Linked DNA regions of Homo sapiens: all the other regions are linked to region 1. The links are contacts of gene promoters, found by promoter capture Hi-C in blood cells and fetal thymus (Javierre and others, 2016). All regions are on one chromosome and are shown on one strand. The core of a region is centred on a gene start or on the middle of the fragment in contact, and the rest is flanking DNA. Distances in the headings are between cores, read along the strand shown.

Evidence for each region. The method cuts DNA at HindIII sites, captures the fragments that hold promoters and counts their contacts. A CHiCAGO score of 5 or more calls a contact.
Region 2: a fragment that was not itself captured here is called in contact with the fragment with the promoter of GPR82 in region 1 in 2 of 17 cell types (neutrophils and M2 macrophages); the score reaches 5.7 in neutrophils.
Region 3: a fragment that was not itself captured here is called in contact with the fragment with the promoter of GPR82 in region 1 in 1 of 17 cell types (M2 macrophages); the score reaches 6.3 in M2 macrophages.
Region 4: a fragment that was not itself captured here is called in contact with the fragment with the promoter of GPR82 in region 1 in 1 of 17 cell types (M2 macrophages); the score reaches 6.5 in M2 macrophages.

What each region holds. Positions count from the first base shown.
Region 1 is chrX:41,722,389-41,725,472 of GRCh38, reverse strand. It overlaps GPR82 (G protein-coupled receptor 82), which reads right to left and starts at 1,292. Exons shown (of 3, transcript NM_080817.5): 1 at 1,184-1,292. All of the region lies in intron 5 of CASK (calcium/calmodulin dependent serine protein kinase), which reads left to right. The HindIII fragment of the contact is 20,979 bases long and covers 1-3,084 here.
Region 2 is chrX:41,527,821-41,530,902 of GRCh38, reverse strand. The region is part of intron 25 of CASK (calcium/calmodulin dependent serine protein kinase); the gene reads left to right. Among named protein-coding and RNA genes, the nearest start is that of CASK-AS1, 12 kb to the right of the region's middle. The HindIII fragment of the contact is 7,338 bases long and covers 1-3,082 here.
Region 3 is chrX:41,573,844-41,576,924 of GRCh38, reverse strand. The region is part of intron 15 of CASK (calcium/calmodulin dependent serine protein kinase); the gene reads left to right. Among named protein-coding and RNA genes, the nearest start is that of CASK-AS1, 58 kb to the right of the region's middle. The HindIII fragment of the contact is 672 bases long and covers 1,432-2,103 here.
Region 4 is chrX:41,491,398-41,494,327 of GRCh38, reverse strand. No RefSeq gene overlaps it. Among named protein-coding and RNA genes, the nearest start is that of CASK-AS1, 25 kb to the left of the region's middle. The HindIII fragment of the contact is 2,098 bases long and covers 516-2,613 here.

The DNA of each region.
Region 1 (3,084 bases), core at 43-2,542:
CTCAATCTTCTTTTTAATCATGTTCTCTTTTGATAAACATAAAAACTGTACCATACACAACCCTTTGAAATTCTTATATCCCCCCAGCCCCTCAGGGCAATTTTACTCTCTACCCCCTTCAGAATTATGGTTTGATTTATTTTCTGCATCTTGGATTACAGAAATTGGGGTTTTTTTTCAAATATGATATTATAATTTTATAATAACTTTTTAAACCAATCCACACCCAAAGTCTTGAAAACTTGAGGACTGTGCAGTGTCTGTGGGTTTAAATAACAAGATTCTTAATTAATGTTTACCACTGTCTTTATAATTTTATTTCTTTGCTATTTTTATTTAGAAAACAGTCCATATGCTTCATTGTAAGTTTGTATCTGAATCTAGTGCAACCTGATGAATTATAATCTGGTTTCAGTTAGTGTAGACCCTGGTATAAATATATAAAACCTAATCTGTAACTTCACCAGTTCAAAAATCAGTCAGACAGTGAAATGAGCCAGTTTATTTAAGAAAAAATTATCTGCTCACAGTAGGTTTTGATTTTACATAAGGATTGGAGCTTCCTTTTATGATGCTGTTAAAGAAAAGCAGTAGCTCCTACCTTGTGCAGATAATGCATAGTATACTAAAAACTGCAAAGGTAATGGTGCTTCTGTATGAATATTAAATGCTTCCAAACAAAAGGGACATAGACTTCTGCAGAGGCTAGCTTTATCAGACAGAAGTTGAGTCTCTGTAGGACTCTCAGTGTAGCAGTCAACAACTAGGTCACCATCTTTACCTTCCCAAACTTGTATCTACTATGTACATCTCCTTCAAAAATAAACTTGGATCATAAAACTACTAGATAACTATTTTCCAGAATTTGGAAAGTACTATTAAGAAATCAAATAAAAATTACATGTTACAGATGCAAAACTGGTCTCCAGAAAATGTCTCTAAGTCTATATTCCCCTCAGGAGAATGTCTATCTCAAGTCACTCATGCATACATTTTGTCTCTGCTAATTTGACAAATGAAAAAAGTTCTACAACTCTTAACTTCAGTTACTAATGACTGTCTACATAGTTAATATGCTGACTGCCTTTCTTAATGATCAGCTTTCAAAATTTAAACCATTAGGTCCTGTTTATTTTTATAGAGTTTAATTTTTAAGCTAAAAATGAATAATAATCACTCTTACCTGTATGAGTAGTTTATGCCAACTAAGGTTATATTGTTCAGGGCAGTGATGCCAAATTTCAGACTTAAAATTCTCTGATCTTCACTCTTCCAATATCTTTAGTCAGTGTGAATAGATTCTTGCATGACACCAACTACAGTGGGAGGAAAAGGGGAAATTAAACAGAATATTGAAGAAATTCAATAGTTATGGTCAATGTGGCAACTGCCTCCTCAAAAAACCCTCATTTCTCTATTTCTGTAGTGGGAGGAAGTGGTGAACAATATACATATTATACTTCCTTATGATTATTTCATGAACTAGTTACACTCCAGTAACCTTTGTTTGCACGATTGACTGAAGTTAAGTTCACAGGTTTAATCCCCCATGGCCAGTTTTATATGACACAGTGATAGAAGGAGCCACTCTGTAGTAACCCAATACAAATATTGGTGCAAACTCGTTTGTAAAATTGTTTGTGGATGGCTTATTTGCAATCCATCTTTATCAAAAATAGAAACAAAACTCAAAGTTTTCTTATAACTTACTAGAATCAAATATTATAGAGCTAAAATAGAACTTCATGATCATCTGTGGACTGAGACCCTTTGTTTTAAAGTTGAAGAAGCTGAGGCCCAGAGGAACTCACTGTAAGCACAGACTGCACCCAGGGTTGGGTCCCAGTTTGGTTACTAATGAGTTAACCCACTCTGTTTCTAATTGCCCTGCACTATCTCCATTTGTCAACATAATACACTGTTTGGGGCATTTCATAATGGATTTGGCAAATCCTGGGAAGTGCCAAGTATGCCTCAGATCAAATGAATAGTTATAAAGAATTGTGAAACCATGACTAGTCTAAAACAATAAAAATTTTAAAAATAAAAAATAGAATTGTGAAACCAATTTTTTTGTTCAGGATTGTCGAATCAGTCTGTGACCTACTAACTAAATGAAAGCTAAGTGTGTACATCTGGGGAGGAAGACTTGCATCAAGCACTCCCTCTCATCCTTGAGTAGTTAAACCAGTGGGAGTCTGAAAAAGAGAACAGAAATCTAATTTCATCAAACCTGAGCATTTTAGTTATCAGTAAATCTTCACTTAAAATTTACAGAAGTACCTTGCCATTTCTCATAAACCCGCAATGCTTACCTTATTTCATGTTTATTTCATAAATTCTCTATGATGTTTGCTAATATTTCTCTCCAAAACAAAAGTGAGAACTGCCTAAAGTGTCCAGATTGTGTTCTGCTGCTGTTCATCTTTGCCTTGCCACCATTTACTTAAGAACAGTGACTCATCCAGGGTTACATGGCCGTTCATTACAGAGTAGTTTGGCTTTTAGAATTCCCATCACTTTTACTTCAGTAATGTATCATGTTCCAGGAAGGAATTACATAGAACAAAAAACAGTTTTAATTAATTTAGAGAAGAACAGAAATGGAATGCTATTTCTAAGTGATTGAAAGATAGTTGTAATATTATCTGTTCAGGCATAAGCGTCTTTGGTCCGAAAAAAGAACGCTCTTGTTTTCCTCCATTGTCTCCAAACTCAGTAAATGATACCATCACTCCTTCAGTTATTCAAGCCAAAAACTTACGAATCATCCTTAATTCCTCTTTCTTTCACATCTCACATCTAATCAATTGCTGGTACTACAGCTTCTACTATCACTACCATCATTCATTAGCCACATTTCATGAGAGCTTACTATGTGCCAGATATCTCGCTATGTGCCTTACATCCAAGTCTTATTTGGTTTTCACAACACCCTGTGAAATGTCTCATTTTAAAGGTGAGGAAAACTGAAACTCAGAAAGATCTCATAAGTTGCCCAAGGTCACACAGCCATCTGTCCTCACAGGATGGTGATTGGCTCACCTCAAAGCAACTAATTCAAGAACAAGTCCATAGCTGCAA
Region 2 (3,082 bases), core at 1-2,500, 190 kb after region 1:
TTCATAAACCACAGAAAAGTATCAGTAATGGAGGCGTTGGGGGTTCACAGTCTAGAATGCCAGCTGACTAATCGTTGGACTCAGTGCACACACCATGTATTTAAGAAGCAGAGATTATTCTCTTAAGAGGTTTATTATATGCAGAAGCTCAGTAAGGTTCCTGATTGTGTCTACGCCTGCCAGAAATCCTACGATCATCTGACCTCAGGATGAGGCTCTGGCACTTTGTTATCACAACAGCCACCTTCCCTCTCTGGGTACAGCTCACGCTGGACCATCAGAGCCTCTACCAGCACATTATGTTAATCTCCAGTGAGAAACTGATCCTGGGGCCTGGGTCTGAAACACAGCACTAGCTTTATGAAAGCAAGCATGAGTGAGCCCAGATGTCAGAGACAGCAGGGATGGAAACCCATGGTGGCTCTCAGCCTCTGCCATTTCCTTACCTGAGCACAATGCCTGACCCTGAGCAAAAACTAGGAGAGAGATAAAGACTTGGAAGAGGACTCAAAAGAGAGCCAGACACAGAGATGATGAAATGGTTTCTAGATATGTCTTGCAGTAGGAATTATTAAACTTGAAAAAGAGAAAGCTGAAGGCTTTACATCAAAAATGCTGACAAGCTGTTTTTTCATCTCTGAGTACAAACCAAGTAGATATGGGAGGCAAAGTATAGTAGGAAGGATTTGGGAGTTGTAGACATCAAGGTGGGTTATAGGAGAGGCTTGTGGGTGCCATGTGACTCCTGGGTCTGCCATTTCTAGGACTGATCTGTACCAAATCTCCTTTAACCCTTAGAAATAGAACCAGTATGCTACCTGCTGAAATAGTAGACCAGCTTCCCTCAAGCAGGCTGTGTTTCATCAGGAGGCTTACCTGGCTATCTTAGGCAGGGCGAATCCCTGTTCAAGGGCCACTGTATGAGACTTGGTCCCCTAACCATCCCTAAAGCAAGGACAGAACCTATATAGCCAGAGTCTGTGTGACCTGGGACCTGACAGCTCAGTTTCTGGGCTCCAGGATCCTAATTCGTGGCCAGTGGGTTCACCCATTTCCGTTTACAACACCTGATGGGGTTCTTGAACTTGGAACTTTGGAAACCACAAAAGGATCTGTTCAAGGGGCTAGGGAGGAAAGCAGCAGTAGGGTGAACACTGCCGTTTACTTAACAATTAACTTGGACCTATATAGAACTAAATATATGATGTGTACCACAGATTGATTTTTGTTTAACTACTAATCCCTCCTTACTAGGGATTGGAAAAATCTTCTGGCCAGGGGTGGCTAGAGGCAAAGTCTCAATCCTGGTCCTGGTCTTCGACATCCTCTCCTTGGGTTCCACACTGGTCTTCACCTGAACGTCGTTTTCTGCTGGTAGTAATGTCTCTAGCAGTATGCTGGCTGCAGGGCTCCTCAGACTCCCTCTGCATTACCTAAGTCCACTTTCGAGGGCTTTCTGCCTTACCTGCCTCCGCTGCTGCCGCCGCCACCGCCACTGCTGCTGCTGCCGCTGCTGCTGCTGCTCCACCCATAGCGTCCAGCTCTCCCTTTCTCCTTGCCCTTGCACAGCCATGCATTGCTCTGCACTGCTGAGTGGGAGACACTTCTCTCAGCCTCCTCAGGACACCCACAGCAGTTACTTTTACCCATTGCACTTGGCCCCAAAGCACCTCCTCACCCCGGCTGGGCACTCTCCTCTGCTCCCCTGAGTGCTGGATGAGCTCACCTGCACTCTTCTCTCCTGCTTCCTGGGTCCCTGCCTCTCAGAACTGTGATCTCTCAGATCCACCTAGCCCTGAGGGCCGGCCATAGGCATCCTGGCTGCCTGAGTCTCTTTGGGCCAGCGGCCCTGGGGATAGGGATTGCCCAGGTCCTGCTCCTCCTGTTGGTCTGGTTGACTACACTGGTCCCAGGCCCTCCTGCGCAGGCCAGCCTCATGCCAGTCCTGGTCTCACAATGACCATTGCATACCACAGTACAGCTGAGAATGCCCGCAGTCTGCACCGACTGGGCTTCACTCTCGGGCTTCTCTGCCCTCAGCCCAGTCTCTCCTCAGCTGGACAAGGCCTTCATCCTGCCTTCAGGATACCCGTGACCATGAACAACTTGCTTTCAGGCAGAGCCTCACTGCTCCAGGGAGGCTCTCTCCTTAGGACATTTTTCTCCATCCCCCTTTCCCACTCCAGCTTCTTAGATGACCCCTCTACTGTATCTTACAGACAATTTAATCCAACAAACTTGTATTAAGCCCTTATTATATGTCAAGCACAGGGTCAGGAGCTAAGAATACAATTCAGAAGACAAGATGGTGAGGATGAAATTCCTTCCTCATTGTACATCCAAAACTGTCCATAACAGAAGGGCCTTGTGGCATTTTTTAGAATCCTCTCACTTCTGCCAAACTACATGTGGACCATAGGAAAACCACCTAACACATGTCCAGCTCTTTTAGTACAGGTCTAATACTTTATGCCATCTTATTTCAGACAACTGAGGCCCAATTGAGCACGTCTAATAATACTATATGATAAGATGTTGTGGTCCAACTTTAAAGCTAGAGGATGATGGTAAAGACATTAAACTAGAAAGAAATTAATAACCTAGCTTCTCATAAAATAGTAATAGATTATGTTCTTATAGTGCTGTATATTTTGCCAGGCGTTATGACTCCTTACCTAATCCTTGTAACCCTATGAGCTGGAGATCAGTATCTAGTTTTGTAGATGGAGAAACCAAGGCTTAACATAATTGTGACTCGATTAAGGCTTTACAGCCAATTGAAAGTGAGGTGTGAAGTTGAACTGTGTTGATTTTTAAATTTTTATTCTTTTACAGTAAATCCCCACTTCCTTTCACTGTACCACCCTAGAAGAGGTAACCCTGGGAATCCTTAAGATGGTTCACCTTATCCATAGTAGTACAATGTAAAGCCTCATTTTTTCTTAACATTCAGAAAAATCTGTAATTCAGTCAAACCTAAGAAAAGCTGTAGAATTTATTTCTCATGAAAATAAAGCTATGGCTCAGAAAATAATCTGTGCCCCTAAAGCTGAAACTGTAATAGCCCCAGTGTGTAATCAGA
Region 3 (3,081 bases), core at 518-3,017, 150 kb after region 1:
CTCATTTAGTAATCTTTGCCAGTTATACAATATTATCTTGCAGCACATGGGGGGCATGCAGATCACCTCACCCCTTCTGGTACTATCCAGGCAACTCTTTGGCTTAAGAGCATAGGCTACAGCAGGTTTTGGGTGTCTTGGGCAAATCACTTCATGTCAGTGGACCTCAGTTGGCTCATCTCTAAAAGCATAGTTGACTAAATGAATGATCCCCAAGATCCCACCTAGCTCTGAAAGTCTAATATTCCATTCATTCATTTTATATATTCATTCATTTATTCACCAAATATTTTTGAAGTCCCTACTAAGTGCAAATCACTCTTATTAGATGCCAGTGATCTATTGTCAGATAAGACACTGCCCCTTACTAGAGCTCACGTTCCACAGGGCTGGCTACATTAAACAAGTAAATTTGTAGCTTAGCACGGTTTACTTAACAAGCCCAGTTATGACAGAGCTGGAGAGGAGAGAAAGCTGTGTTGGAGAGGCAGGAAGGTGTGATGTTCAGCCAGGCAAAGCAGGCAAGAAGGTAGAAGGGACCACAAGAAGGAGGCCTCAGAGTGTCTTGGGATCATTAAGTTCTCAAGCAGTCCAGTGACAGCTGCTTGATTGTTTGTGTGAAGACTCACTACATAGAAACATAGACTGAATTGGCCCGGTGCAGTGGCTCACACCTGTAATCCCAGCACTTTGGGAGGACGAGGCGGGTGGATCACGAGGTCAGGAGTTCGAGACCAGCGTGGCCAATATGGTGAAACCCCATCTCTACTAAAAATACAAAAATTAGCCAGGTGTGGTGGTGGGTGCCTGTAATCCTAGCTACTCAGGAGGCTGAGGCAGAAGAATCGCTTGAACCCGGGAGGCGGAGGTTGCAGTGAGCCGAGATCGCGCCACTGCACTCCAGCCTGGGCAGCAGAGTGAGACTCCGTTTCAAAAAAAAAAGAAAAGAAAAGAAAAGAAAAAAGAAACATAGACTGAATAAAAGCATAAAACTACATCCCTGAGTTACTTTTTCAGAAAGCGTAAAATGGTCTTGAGTCTCCCCTAAAAGTCTCCTTCCAAAAGCTTTTCTGTCTTCGATGATCCTAGTGAAGATGTATATTTCTTCTCCTTTTGATGGGTTTCCATGAAAACAGGAATTATTTTATGTGAAATATAAAATATATATTTTCAATAATAGAGTGTCAATCTCTAATGCATTTAATACAACTTTATTTGCTTTCTTAGTTGTCTTATTCAAAGCATTATGTTACTGTGCAGGATATTCCTATATGATCTGTTTTGTTTTTCAGACCCTCTGCAATGTGTCCATTCCTCAAGGGTGACATACTCCTGTTACACACCTCTGTTTTCCCATTTGTAGCATCATACTCATAATTTTTTTTTTTATTGATTGGAATTCCCATAGTTGCAAGTGACAAAAATCAAGCTTGAACTAGCTTACAAAATAGAGGAAAGGCTTATATAAACAGGGAAAGGCCAGGAGTATAACTTTCCTAATATCTCCCCTCAAGCTGGTAGGTTCAGGAGTAGGCACCTAACCCAAGCTATGCCAATGCCTTCCCTAGAATTTGTGAACTTGGGAACAGAGAGAAAGTGAATCAGTTCCTCTCTACAGAGAAATGTTTGGGACCTACAGAATAATAAATGTTAACTACAGTTGGTTTGAGGTGAACTTCTCCTGGCCATGGGAGACCCTTTTTGTCTCATTTGCTACTGTACCTAGCAGAGTGCCTGCCTCATAGTAAATTCACGTTAATGTTAGTTGAATGAATACATACATCTATTAGTTTCAAGGGTGGAAGCTGTATTGTACTATCATTTCCCTTATGAAATTAGATTTGACTTACACACTAATTTACAGCATTTTTCCAGGAACACTTTTCTTAGTAACCATACAAGCTGATTGAATGTACAAGTTGGAAATGAAACTTGAATATTACAATTGAATCTTAGGACTGGAAACATTTTGATAAACCAGTTTTTCACATTGCTCACCTACCACTTCTGAAAACTGCAAAATAGGAACAATGCAAAGTTATAGTTTGTGGAGTGGTACAAATTAAGTTTAGAGTATAAAGTCTCAGATATTTTTATCAAGCTTTCTGACAGTGTTATTCTCTAGTGAAAAATAAAAGACACAGTCCCTACCCTTAACTGTCTCAAATTCAAGGCCACTTTCCAGCAAGGGAGCCTGTTAAAAAGTACAGATTTCCGGGCTCCATTCGAGGCCTCCTGAGCTTAAATCTAAAGAGTGGGTTTAAGAGTCAGCATTATTTAAAATTTCCCTGTGTGATTCTTAGGATTAACCAGATCTAGTGCAAAAAATATGTTTATGAATGCTTGTTTTTTTTAATAGTGGATAATCAGAAAACAAAAAGTAATCCACTCTGTAGAATAGTATTCTGGCATTAAATGTGACTATAGAACTTTCATTTCTGTCCAAGATAGAGTAACTGGGACCAGATTTATCCTCTCATTTGAAACAACCCAACATATAAAAAACAAAATATCATGAAAGAACAGTTTTCAAGACATTAGACATCAGGCAACTAAGGACAGTGATCTCTTGTGAGACAGGAAACAAGGTGACCCATATGAATGCCCCACCATGCTGCCTTGAGAGAGTTTCCAGGCCACAGCACAGGGAGGGGAACTAAGGCAGAGTAGGCAGACTCCCTAAATTGAGGGGACAGAGCTGAGAGTCTGGGGTGACCAAAGCAACTAGAGTTCATAGGACAGAGTACTGAAGAGGAGAGAGCTGCACACAGACAGAACCTCAGATCTGCAGAGGATCTCCCTCAAGTATTCAGCAGAGTATCGATCAGTGCATGTCTAATAGGAAATTCCCCAACACTGAGAAACTCCCCAACACTCTCCACTTTGGATGGAAAAAAAAACCATCCAAAAGGATTGGAAGGAACAGCGCCTGCACTACCTGTTCCCACCAGTCAGACTAGAAAAATTTCTAATTCATGGCTCATTGTGTAGAGCGCTCAGGGAAGTCTTATCTCTGTAATGAGAAGTAATTAGCCCCAAACTGACAACTGCTCCAGACCTGCCTAATGGATCATGAACGCA
Region 4 (2,930 bases), core at 315-2,814, 230 kb after region 1:
TGCACTCCAGCCTGGGCAACAAGAGCAAAATTCCGTCTCAGAAAAAAAAATAAAAATAAAAATAAAGCAGACAAGAAAAAACAGGAAGAAAAGAAGGAAAGACCAAAAGAAAGAAAGCTAGCTAGCTTCCGAAAGCCCTCTAATGCCAGCAGGAAAAAGTGTTAACTGTTTAAGAGACTAGGCCCTGGTGTCCAACAGACTTAGTTCAAGTCCCAGCCCTACTGAGTCCTTGTTATGCAATCTTCATCAATATGCCTAACCTCTCTGAGTCTCAATGCACTCATCTGTAAAATGGGAATAATAATAATACCTCCCTCATAGTGTCACTATGAAATTTCAACCAGACAGTATCTATAAAGTATTTAGCACAGTGCCAGGGTCATAGTGAGTGCGGGAGACATGTTTCCAATCTTCTTCTGCCTCCACTCCAGCTTCATTTCCCATCATCTCCCACCACGCACCCATGGCCCCAGCCATCTTGCCATTGGCTGCCCTGGGTCAGATTCTTCCAAGCTTCTCTGGCTTTGCTCACGCTGTCCCCTCAGCTGGGAATGCCCTTCCTCCTTGTCCAGCCAGGGACCCTGCTCACCTCAGACCACAGTTCAAGCAACGTTTCCTCTGTGAAGTCTTCTCTGATGCCTCTTCGCACAGGCCCATCCCACCTTCACTGCCCTGCGCTACATCTCCATATTAAGCCCTTGTGTCTTTTTTTTTTTTTTTTTTATGAGACAGGGTCTCCCTCTGTCGCCAGGCTAGAGTGCAGTGGTGCAATCACCAATCACGGCTCACTGCAACCTCCACCTGCCAGGCTCAAGTGATCCTCCCACCTCAGCCTCCCAAGTAGCTGAAACCACAGGCGTGCACCACTACACCTGGCTAATTTTTGTATTTTTTTGTAGAGACAAGGTCTCCCTATGTTGTCCAGGCTGGTCTCGAACTCCTGGGCTCAAGTGATCCACCCATCTCAGCCTCCCAAAGTGCTGGGATTACAAGCATGAGCCATCATGCCCGGGCTAAGTAGTTTTGTTCAAGGTCATTTGATTTGTCATATGTGGATGCTTGATATAGATGTTGAACCACCAGGTTCTAGAGAGAAGGAATCCCAACTCCCATCCCCTGTATGTTTTCAGAAACTGCTCGATGTCTCCCATATGGGACTGCAGGTGGCCATAGGAATGGAAGAAGTAGTGGCTGTGAGAGCAGTTTTCCCTTCGGGGACCTGGGGAGTGTTCAAGCGCCAGGCTGAAAGCAGGCAGGTAACGCCAGGCAAACAGGAGGAATCCCTCAGAGCAGGGAGATGAGAACCCTAAGGGCAGCAAGGACATGTGCTTGCCCTTACCTTCAGTCATGCCAAGATGGGGCAAACCTCCCAAGGGCCTGGGACAGGGCTAAGGGTGAGTTCTCCCAAGGGTGGGGGTTCCTACTTTCAGGCCAGTTGCAACCCAGAGTTGGCTTGATATGAAAGGCACAGTGTGCATGTTTTTGTCGCCATGATCAAAGTCTGTTGGTGGCCGGGCATAGTGACTCACGCCTGTAATCCCAGCACTTTGGGAGGCCAAGGCAGGTGGATCGTCTGAGGCCAGGAGTTCGAGACCAACCTGGCCAACATGGTGAAACCTCGTCTCTACCAAAACTACAGAAATTAGCCAGGCGTGGTGGCGCATGCCTGTAGTCCCAGCTACTCAGGAGGCTGAGGCATAAGGCAGAGGTTGTAGTGAACTGAGATTGTGCCACTGCACTCCAGGCTTGATGACAGAGTGAGACTGTCTCAAAAAAATAAATAAATAAATAAATAAATAAATAAATAAGAAAAAAATCTACTCTCTTAGCAATTTTCAAGTATACAATACATTGTTATTTTGTTTTTGTTTTTGTTTCTCCAGACAGAGTCTCCTTCTTGTTGCCCAGGCTGGAGTACAATGGCACAATCTCAGCTCACCGCAACCTCTGCCTCCCGGGTTCAAGCGATTCTCCTGCCTCAGCCTCCACAGTAGCTGGGATTACAGGCATGCGCCACCATGCAGGGCTAATTTTTTTGTATTTTTAGTAGAGACGGGGTTTCTCCATGTTTGTCAGGCTGGTCTTGAACTCCTGACCTTAGGTGATCCACCCGCCTCGGCCTCCCAAAGTGCTGGGAATACAGGTGTGAGCCACCGCGACCGGCAGTCACCATTTTAGTAATAGATCTCTTGAGGTACAAAATTTGTACCCTTGGACCAACATCTCCCCAACCCCTCCTGCCCAGCCCCTGGTAACCACCACTCCACTCCACTCTTCCAGTTTGTCTCTTTTAGATTCCACATGTAAGTGAGATCATGCAGTGTTTGTCCTTCTATGACTAGTTAATTTCACTTGCATAATGTTCTCCACGATCATCCATGTTGTCACACTCCTGCACTTTATTACGAAAAAGGAATAAACTTCTACCTCGTTTAAGCCACTGGTATTTCAGGGTTTATGTTACTCACAGCTGAGCCCAATCCTACTTGAGACTCAAGCGGTGACTCACATTTCCTTGGCTGGCGTGAAGTGCTTCCCAGCTATTTCTGCTTTTCATTCTTCACAATAGCTCTTTGAGGTAAAAGGAATGTTCCTAATGAGGAAAAGGAAGCTTCAGCACTCCGAGGAGAGGTGAGACAAATGATGCTGGTTTTATCTTTCCAGAAGGCTGTTCCTGCAGCTGCCGCCTAAATCACAAGGAGTAAGCCCTGTGATGTCAGCTATGTGCCAGAGAAACCAGAAAGCACACGCCATTCCTTGTCAGCCATCACCTGAAATTACTAAAGTGCTGTATTGGGTTCGTTCATCTAGAGACCAGCTCCTAATCACAGGATGCTGTTTTACAAGGTCAAAAACATGCCAGGCAAACCCGCAATGCCACCGCTCAGCTTGAGGGAGAAAAGTTTTACATCCCTGGGAGGAGCTTCTGA